Regions from separate parts of the Homo sapiens genome. Here regions 2 and 3 are each linked to region 1. Evidence: promoter capture Hi-C in 16 types of primary human blood cells and fetal thymus (Javierre and others, 2016). All regions are on one chromosome and are shown on one strand. The core of a region is centred on a gene start or on the middle of the fragment in contact, and the rest is flanking DNA. Distances in the headings are between cores, read along the strand shown. Region 1 holds the start of ISX (intestine specific homeobox). Region 2 overlaps LARGE1 (LARGE xylosyl- and glucuronyltransferase 1). Region 3 has its middle 79 kb from the start of LARGE1-AS2.

Evidence for each region. The method cuts DNA at HindIII sites, captures the fragments that hold promoters and counts their contacts. A CHiCAGO score of 5 or more calls a contact.
Region 2: a contact is called between a fragment that was not itself captured here and the fragment with the promoter of ISX in region 1, in 1 of 17 cell types (endothelial precursors). The highest score is 5.5, in endothelial precursors.
Region 3: a contact is called between a fragment that was not itself captured here and the fragment with the promoter of ISX in region 1, in 1 of 17 cell types (endothelial precursors). The highest score is 5.1, in endothelial precursors.

The regions. Positions count from the first base shown.
Region 1 is chr22:35,064,504-35,067,598 of GRCh38, reverse strand. ISX (intestine specific homeobox) reads right to left here and starts at 1,441. Exons shown (of 5, transcript NM_001303508.2): 1 at 1,137-1,441; 2 at 283-847. The coding sequence starts at 511. The HindIII fragment of the contact is 3,728 bases long and covers 213-3,095 here.
Region 2 is chr22:33,562,544-33,565,619 of GRCh38, reverse strand. It overlaps LARGE1 (LARGE xylosyl- and glucuronyltransferase 1), which reads left to right. Exons shown (of 15, transcript NM_133642.5): 6 at 601-772. Among named protein-coding and RNA genes, the nearest start is that of MIR4764, 130 kb to the right of the region's middle. The HindIII fragment of the contact is 1,318 bases long and covers 660-1,977 here.
Region 3 is chr22:33,241,585-33,244,941 of GRCh38, reverse strand. It overlaps a transcript of LARGE1 not described here. Among named protein-coding and RNA genes, the nearest start is that of LARGE1-AS2, 79 kb to the right of the region's middle. The HindIII fragment of the contact is 654 bases long and covers 1,730-2,383 here.

The sequences.
Region 1 (3,095 bases), core at 192-2,691:
CTGAATAAATGGTAACTAGCATTCTTAGCCGGGGCCTGGTTACAATAACAAGCCCCAGGTCCCTGCATTCTGCAACTAACTGAGCCTTGGTGTCTGAAGCTGAAAAGCACAGTTTTGGGTTAGATTGAAAGGTATATCAGGAAACCAGCCCAGAGCCAGGTCTTGCTCTGAATTTTAGAGTCCTCTATCCAGTTAATATGGACGGAGAAGCTTTTTCTCTGCCTGAGCCCAGCTGGGTCTTGGAGACCAGGAAACAGAAAGAAATGATCAGAAGACACTTACCCTGGGGCTGGTCCTTTGGAGGCTTTTCTAGCCCAGAGCCTGAGGCCGCAGCTTCTCCGGGGCCCTCTTCACCTGGCCCTTCTGGTCTGTCCATATCACTCCTCCTGGCAGGCCTCTTTAGGATCGCCTCAATGGAGAAGGACAGGCTCAGCTTCTTCGGGGCCTCACAGCACCCCAAGCTATTTCTCTCCATACCCCTGCAGAGAGCAGGGCCCACCTCAGCACACATTGAGGGGCTCAGGGGTGACTCTGTGTAGGCCAAGGAGGGTGCCAGTGGAGAGTGGCGTACTTCCTCCCCTGAACCTCCTGGGGTCAAGAGGGCGCGTGGAGGTGAAGAACAGAGAGCCTCCAGTTAGATGATCCAAACAGGATTTCGTGTCCACAGGGACTTCCATGGGCAGGTCACAGCAGAAGAGCTGGAAGGAGTGGTATCCTGTGCCCACGGCTCAGCCCTTACCAGTTTGACATCAAAGGAGTCACCATGGCTGAATTGGGGTTCAATCTTCCAGAGAAGGGTCTTCTCGGACACAGTTGCCTGCACAATCACCAGGTTAGGCCAGGATCCCTGAGGTCACCGCCCAGTGGCGAACAAAGAGAAGAGGGAGAAACAATAAGGCACAGGAAAGAGGAGGTCAGTCTCCAGAGGAGGTTTGGAGGCAGGGGTCCACCTTTGCCCTTTCTCTGGCTTCTGGCCCTTTCCTGTGGCTCTAGCCAGCCTTTAGGAGGAGGTTGGAGTGCCACCCTTGGCCTCAGGTGGCCAATTCAGTCCTGGGCTTTACTGCAGCTTGAGGGGTCTTCCCAGACACCCGTGTTTACTTCCTTCAGTTCTGCTGCTTCCAGACTCCAGAACGTACCTTCAGCGCATCAGTGCTCCTGCTGTCCTGCAGGTGGAGGCTGAGGAAAGGGGGTCCCTGGGTGCTGCCAGGCCTGTCTCTTCTCTGTGCCAGGGCTGGGCTGAGCTGTGGGTCTGATTCTTCTCAGGTGCCTCTGGGCTGGCCCTGGCTTTTTTTCTGTTCTATTTTCCCTGACGTCACTTTACATGCGAAGCCCTCTCTCCACAAGCGCCTGACCCAGGGTACCTCTCCCTTCCTTGTGGGGTCCTTTATGCTGTTTCTCCCAGTCTCCTGAGACAGACTGAAGAGGCCCTTTCTCTCTGACTGGGAGCTGACAGTTGTTGATCTGTCCTTGCCTGGAATTTTGCTCCAAATTACTGTGTAACCAAGGAGGAGGGGGCAGTAAAACAGGCTGATAAGAGAAAAACTCTCCACGCCCCTTAAGGCTGGGGATGCAGGTGTCAGGGTAGAAAAGTGGCAGGAGGCAGTGGGGATCTGAAGGACAGGTATTGGAGGCCCCAGGGAGGGGCTGTGCTGGGGAACTGGCCAGAGCAGGGGAAGGGAAGGTGGGAGCAGAATGGCCAGGAAGTGTACCCAGGCCCAATAAAACATGTTTACTCAGCCAGGAGAGCCTGTGGTCATGTGTGGGGGAGGCTGGGCTGAGGTGCAGTCTGCTGGCTGTCAGCCTTAGGCATTCATTTGCTCTCAGATGTGCTTTCCATGGCTTGCAAATATCAGATCAGGAAAAGCATTCCAGGGCTTTCTGATATGGGGAAACTGAGGTCCAGACCAAGGAGGTACAGAAAATGTGATGGCAGGGCCTGATCACAGTACTCCCCTGGGGATGTCCATGATGCCATGCTGGCCACAAGGAGCCAATTTGCACAGGAGGGATGGATACCCTGGCAGAGACTGTGAATGTAAATTTGGATGTTAGAATCTAGATCTTCTCATAGAGGGCAGGGGTGGGAGGTGAAGGATAGGGAACGTTGGTCTCCACTCCCTGAGAAGAGTGAGTCAGGAGAGAGAGGGACTCACCCTGAGAGAGGGAACAGGTAAAGATGCCCCATTTTAGGAGCTGTGCCCCTTGGAAGTGTCAGGCTGTCTGATTTAGTTAGGGGGGGAATAGGCTCTGCTGTAGTAGCAAGTAAACCCTATAGTCTTGGGAGCATAATAGCTCACCCACATCACATTCTAATGTAGTCATTTAGGGACCCAGATTCCTTTCAAACAGTGATGCCACCATTCTCCAATCATAGGCTCCAAGTTTTCTGGGGAAAGGGAGACAGCAAAGGAGAATTTTTTTTTTTTAATTTTAAGTTCTGGGATACATGTGCAGAATGTGCAGGTTTGTTACATAGGTATACATGTGCCTTGGTGCTTTGCTGTACCTATCACCCCATCATCTAGGTTTAAGTCCTGCGTGCATTAGGTATTTGTCCTAATGCTCTCCCTCCCCTTGCCCCCAACCCCTTGACTGGCCCCAGTGTGTATTTTCCCCCTCCCTGTGTCCATGTGTTCTCATTGTTCAACTCCCACCTATGAGTGAGAACATTCAGTATTTGGTTTTCTGTTGAAAGGAGAAATTTTGATGAGTCAGAAGTGGAAGTGGTTGATAGACCTTCTGCTCACATTCTGTGGCCAGAGGGAGTCACATGACCCTGCTTAGACCTATCCCTTTCCTAGGGCTGGACAGGGGAGTTTTCCTGCCAGGAGACAAATGAACCAGTTTGTTGACTTTTGCAGTGAAGAGGCCAGAGTCCCCTAGAAGTCAGGCCCACCATTGGTCCATGGAAGGGGTTGTTGGATGAGAGGACAAGGTTCCTTACACTCAGGGCAGAGGAAGCTCTGATGGGTACTTGAGATGCTTGGTCAAGAGCAAGGACAGGATCTTTGGGGGTGGAAGTGGCAGAGGCAAAAAGAGAGAGGCGATGGAGCCCTTTCTCTCTGCTGGACCTCGTGCCTGCAGCTGTGTGCTCA
Region 2 (3,076 bases), core at 69-2,568, 1.5 Mb after region 1:
GTGTGTGTCCTCTATTGCTGTCAGGTGAAGAGTGTCGCGTGATGACTAGGTCCTCTTATTTATCTGAGAATAAAGAGAAGGCAGCAGTAGTAATCTATTCAATTACAGTTTTAAAAGAATAAGCATAAGCTTTAACAATACTACTGCCCACTAATCTTTAATGACACGTAAATGGAATATGATTTAAAGAAATATACGTACATAGGAACAATTTGATACTGGTTGCAAAAGTATTTGTAGTGGGATTCAATTTTTGGACCTTTATGTTTTTGCATATCCTTTTTTTCTCTAGTGGATCTATTTAATTTCTATAATAACAAAAGTTTTATTTAAAAATCTCAACATAGGATTTGCAGTAATAATTATTTCATAACTATTACTTTTCCTCTCCCTTAATTCAGATACATTTTCCTCCAGAAAACTTCACATGTCAAAATGCAAATTATATAAATCTTTAAAAGAAAACTCATTCATTTATTCAACAAATTTTTATTGGATACTTTTTGTGTGCTAGGCACTATTTATAATGTTTAAGCAAAGAATTAATATAGCAATTTTTTTTCCCTTTCTCCAACTCTCTCTCTGCCTTGTTCTGTCTAGTCTGAAGTTTCCTGGATCCCCAATAAACATTACTCTGGGATTTATGGTCTGATGAAGCTTGTCCTGACCAAGACTCTTCCTGCCAACCTGGAGAGAGTCATCGTCCTTGACACGGATATCACCTTTGCCACTGACATTGCAGAGCTGTGGGCTGTGTTCCACAAGTTCAAAGGTAATGGTAGCCCATTCGTTTTTTCCCCGATATCCTTGTAGGTATCAGCATGCCAAGAATAGGGGTTGACTTTTTTAAAAAGGTGAGGTCTCCTCGAATGAGGTCGTGCTAATGCAGTGGGTGAGGAATTACAAATATGGTTCAATATCAACTCTGCTTGGATTTGAAAAATAATAGAGTAAAACAGAAACTTGTTTACATGTCTTTAGTAAATGAAGATGTTTTTAACAGATAAATATCAAATGTGTGTATTTTGTATGCAGATAGCGGAGTGTTCACATACTGGTCGGGACGTGTGTTCATTGGTTTTCTTTTTATCGAAGGATAGTCTAATTGCCAAGAAAGCCTGTGAGGTAGTAGAGATGAGTATTGATTCTAGAGTTTTTGAAAATGTTCATATGGCTTTTGCTTTCATTAACGTTGTGGTTTATCATTTTAAGGAGATGTATGTATTTGGCTTTCTTTACAAGACGTTCTTTCTAGTCTGGTGGGTTTCTTTATAGCTATTATTGTAACTCTCGTCACGGCCTCAAGGTATATGAGAGTACCTAGGGGGAAATTGTGAGCTCAGTAGGTGTACTAACTGTGGCATGGATATGTGAGAGAAGTGGCAGGTTAGCACAAATCTTAGGCTGTTATTTTAATACCCCTCTCCCAGATGTCTTTTTAAAAATTATATTATTTTAAAAATTCTTCTATACTGGATGAGTACAATGAGAAAGAAATTCGACAGTGAAATTTTTAGTTTTATATATTTTTTTAATTGCACGCTAGCCCCTTCTGTGTTTAAAATCCCTTCTGCCATTCCTCTTAGCTCCATATCCTATGAAAGCAAAATACTACTTAATGATTTTAAATCCCAGCATTTTCATAAATCACAGGATATTCCTGTTGGTTTCTGTTTCTATTCATGAACAGAGAGTAAATTTCCTTGCTTGCCCTGGTCACTCCCTGCTTCCTTCTCAGGGCTTCTGAGCTCTGGGCTAATTGAGGAAAGTCTTCACCAAATCATGGGAATGACATTTTGATCCCCGGGACTCTTTCCCTTATCAGGATCAAAATTTACTTTTCTTATTCGTGTCAATAATGACACTAACAATGACATCATTTAGGACAGCTGTTGAAATTGAGTATGGCACAGCTCTCTAATCTTCATAGAACGTGTGGACGTGTCCTTTTGTTTCATAAAGAAAGAAACGGAAGCTTAGAGGGATGCAGGCTTTTCCCAGAGTTGAGATCAGAGTGCCCGTGTCTTGGCTTCCATCCGCTGCTCTTTTCAAGTTCCCCTATCGTGTCTGTTTGTTTTTCTCTTCCTGATCACAGTGAACTCACGAGGGGCAGTTTTTCTATAATTACATGGTGTTTTATTCATTTTCTTATGCTGATGTTGAGTGTTCAGTGATGCATTTCTTCAACTGGCGTTTATCGAATCCCTACTGGGTGTGAAGCAGTGTGACGGGCTCTGCAAATGAGGAGATGAGTAATGAGGGGACAGTGAGAGTTGTCACCTCTCCTAGAGGGGGTTAGAGAAGGTAGCTGGGAAGGTGTCACGGAGGAGCTCCTAATTGTGCTCTGTCTCATCAGATGAGAATGGTGGTCGTATGTACTAGACTCCCACATTTTCCTTTGGGAATAAAGGCCTTATTACGCCAGCTGGTGGGAGCAGTCCCTGCAGCGGGGGCTCTCAGAAAAGGCATCAGCCCTTTTTGCAGTTGCCTCTGTTGAAGTGAGTGGCCATGCCTGTGGCCACACCCCTTCGTGGGACACCCCACATCACGGAATGGCTGATGAACATGAGGTCCTGCAGGATCATCTGCCACACTCGGATACTGCCTCACAGGCTGATTTTCCCCTCTGCCTAGTCCTGCTTTCTCCCCTTCCCTTTCATAGGTGCTGTTCTCAAGAGCTCTCTCTAATAAACCTCTTGTATGCTGACATCCATCTCGGGGTCTTTTTCCAAAGAAACTCAACCCACAGCATATATTTAGAGCTGTAAGTCTCCGTTGGATAAGTATAACCACCATAGTCACCAGAACAGGTCATCAGAGATTGTAGAGCTGTAGCTAGGAAATCACGTTTATTCTCTTGCAGCTTGCAATGGCTATAGTGCTAGTGGCGCTCTGTAGCCAATAACAACGTGAATTGTCATGGTTATTTTAAATACGCTGATATCATCCGTGGAAGGGAAGGCACCAGAGCTCTTGCTGCTCCCATAGCTGGCCCAAGGACTTGATTTGGAGGACTCTCAGATTCAAGGCAGCTCCTGGGGTTGAGTAGGGTATATGGGCCAAGGTCAGGACAGGG
Region 3 (3,357 bases), core at 807-3,306, 1.8 Mb after region 1:
TTTTAAAGTCCACTTGTATGAAGACTTGGTGGGGCATTTTGAGGGCAGGGGCTGTTGTTTTTGCCACTGTTCAAGTTGTTGGAGTTGTTATCCACTTCCCCTCCCCCTCCTTACGTACACTCCATGATTAGAAGCATCCTGGTGATCACTAAGAGCTCCGCCACTTCAACATCCTTTCTTGTAATTATTTCATGAATGGATCAGATTTTAGACACGATGATTTACGCCATCAGTTGAAGATCCTTAGCTGTAGCAGGTCAAGATGATGACAGATGGCATAGTTGATTTCTAACTGCCTACAGAGACTAATGTATATCTTTTCTTTGAAGACCCTAAAAGCATATCTGGTGCTCATGTTCAAAGGGGCTTAGGTTGTCCTGCAAAGTGCTTCTTCCAGGGACTCCCTTCCACTTTGATCCAAACAAGCTGAATTTTGGATAAAATGGGGCTAAAGAATGGAGTTCAGGGAGCATAAAAAGTCAGAGGCTTGGATTCATGTTTCAGCTCTCTTCTAAAAAGTTGCTTAGCCTTTTTGAGACTCAGTTTCCTCATCTGCACAATGGGGATGGTCATCTTTGCTTAGCTTATTAGAATTTGTGACAATAATTGAACTAGACAGTGAATATGAAAAGACTTTAAAAACTATAGGCCGGGCGCGGTGGCTCATGTCTGTAATCCCAGCACTTTGGGAGGCCGAAGTGGGCGGATCACGAGGTCAGGAGATCGAGACCATCCTGGTTAACATGGTGAAGCCCCGTCTCTACTAAAAATACAAAAAAAAAAAAATTAGCTGGGCTTGGTGGCGGGTGCCTGTAATCCCAGCTATTTGGGAGGCTGAGGCAGGAGAATGGCATGAACCCAGGAGGCGGAGCTTACAGTGAGCCGAGATCGCGCCACTGCACTCCAGCCTGGGCGACAGAGCAAGACTCCGCCTCAAAACAAAACAAAACAAAACAAAAAACTGTAAACCACCACACAAAGTGAAATGACCACATTATTTACTATTGGAATGATGATACCTACACTTTTGCCTGGAGTGGGTTTCAGGACTTTTATTGAGAATGGGCTCCATGGGTAAGTCCCTAACGCCAATGAATGCTTGGCTGATTTTACTACTTTCAGAATAAAAAAAGGTGACCTGAAAACTCTTTATGCATGACTCAACACTTTCATGTCTAAATATTTATCCAAAAGAAATAAGAACATATGCCCACAAAAAAATATTAGCACATGAATGCTCATAGAAGGCCTGTTCAGGAAAGCCTGAAACTGGAAACAACCCAACTGTCCAACAACAAATGAACGGATAGAGAAATGTTGGTATATTTATGAAGTGAAATTCTACTCAGCAATAAAAGGAAAAAATTACTGATACACATAAAATGGATGACTCTCACAGGCATTACATTTACAGAAAAATTGCCTGACATTAAAGACTACAAAGTATATAATTCCAAGGAATATTTGATGTTCTAGAATAGACAAAACTAATCATTGGTGACAGAAATCAAATAAGTGGTTGTCAGAATGGTGATTGGGTTGGGGAATATTGATTAAAAAGAGAAGCAAAGGAACTTTCTGAGGTGATAAAAAATGTTTTATATCTTGATAGTGGTAGAAGTTAAATAGATGTGTACATGTGTCAAAACGCATCAAACTGTACACTTAAAATATACATAAATTATATCTAAATAAAGTTTTACTTAAAAGTATGTTTTGATATAAAGCTTTATTTAAAGTTTTCAATGGTTATTGTTAATTCTGTCTTGTTATGGGTTGAATTAGCTCTACTGCCCCCCATGCAAATTCATATGCTGAAGTCCTAACCCTTGCTACCTCAGAATGTGACTATTTGTAAATGGAGTCATTGTAGATGGAATTAGATGAGTTTAGATGAGGTCATCCTGGAGAAAGGTGAGCACTCAATCCAATGTGACTGATGTCCTTATAGAAAGGGGAAATTCAGACAAATAGAGACACACACAGGGAAAATGCCATGTGGAGAGGAAGGCAGAGATGGAGGTGATGCTTGTACTAGGCAAAAATGTCAAAGATTGCCAGCAAACCACCAGAAGCTGGTGTAGAAACATGGGGCAGGCTGTTCTTCACAGTCTTCAAATGGAACCAAACCTATGTGACATCTCAGACTTCGAGGCTCCAGAACTGTGAGACAATACTTTTCTGTTGATATGCCACCAGTTGTGGTACTTTGTTACAGCAGCCCTAGCAAACTCATACATGTCCCTAGAGTTTAGTTCTCACTTTCACTAACTGCTCAACTCAACTATGTTAATTGAGCACCCTCAAGACCCTGTGAGAAAAACATAAATAAAAATTGTCCTCCTTGGATAACATATATATGAAAAAAACGGAAAGAAAAGCTTAGTTCTGTTAGTTCCCAGCAGGAGTGCTGAGATCGTGTCCATATGAACCAAAATTGTATAAAATAGCTTTAAAAAGTACAGAGCCAACATAATCACCTAACAGTGTGCAATTCTCAGTCTATCTAGCAATAGACTGAGAATGTGTCACTCAGCCAACACATTTCTGTTCTAGTTTAAGAAATCTACTTGGGGAAGTGCATTAAGACTAGAAGATTGATAGGTGCATATAAATTGAATTTGGTTAAGGGATATTTTTAACAAGTTCTGGGAGCAGAATGAATCACCTCTCTCCACCAGAGGTACATAACTGCCCTGAGGTCATTAGTGATTCAGGGTTCCCACCTGCTAAGAGTATTCTATGAACATACTGACAGTCTACTTACTATTCATTCTTTATCTTTAAAATTTTATTTTTAATTGAAAAAATAATATTTTAAATATATTTATTGGGCACAATGTGATGTTTTGATATATGTTTACAATGTGAAATGATTAAATCAGGCTAGTCAACATATTCACTACCTCACATACTTATTTTTCTATGGTGAAAACATTTAAGATCTACTTTTAGCAATTTTGAATTATGTAATGCATTATTAATTATAGTCACCATTCTGTGAAATAGATCACTAAAGCTGATTCCTCTTGTCTAAATGAAACTTTCTACCCTTTGATGGACAGCTATGCTTTCCCCATCCTCTCCCGTCCCCCAGCCCTTGGTAACCATCATCCTACTCTCTACTTGTAGGAGTTCAACTTGTTTAGATTTTGTGAGTGAGAACATGTGGTATTTGCCTTTAGAGTCCTCTAGGTTTATCCATATTGTGTTAAATGACAGGATTCCCTGCCTTTTTAAGGCTGAATAGTATTTCATTGTAATATATATACATACACACACACATATACACACACATATATATACATATATACATATATGTACATAGATACATATATATGTACATATATACACACA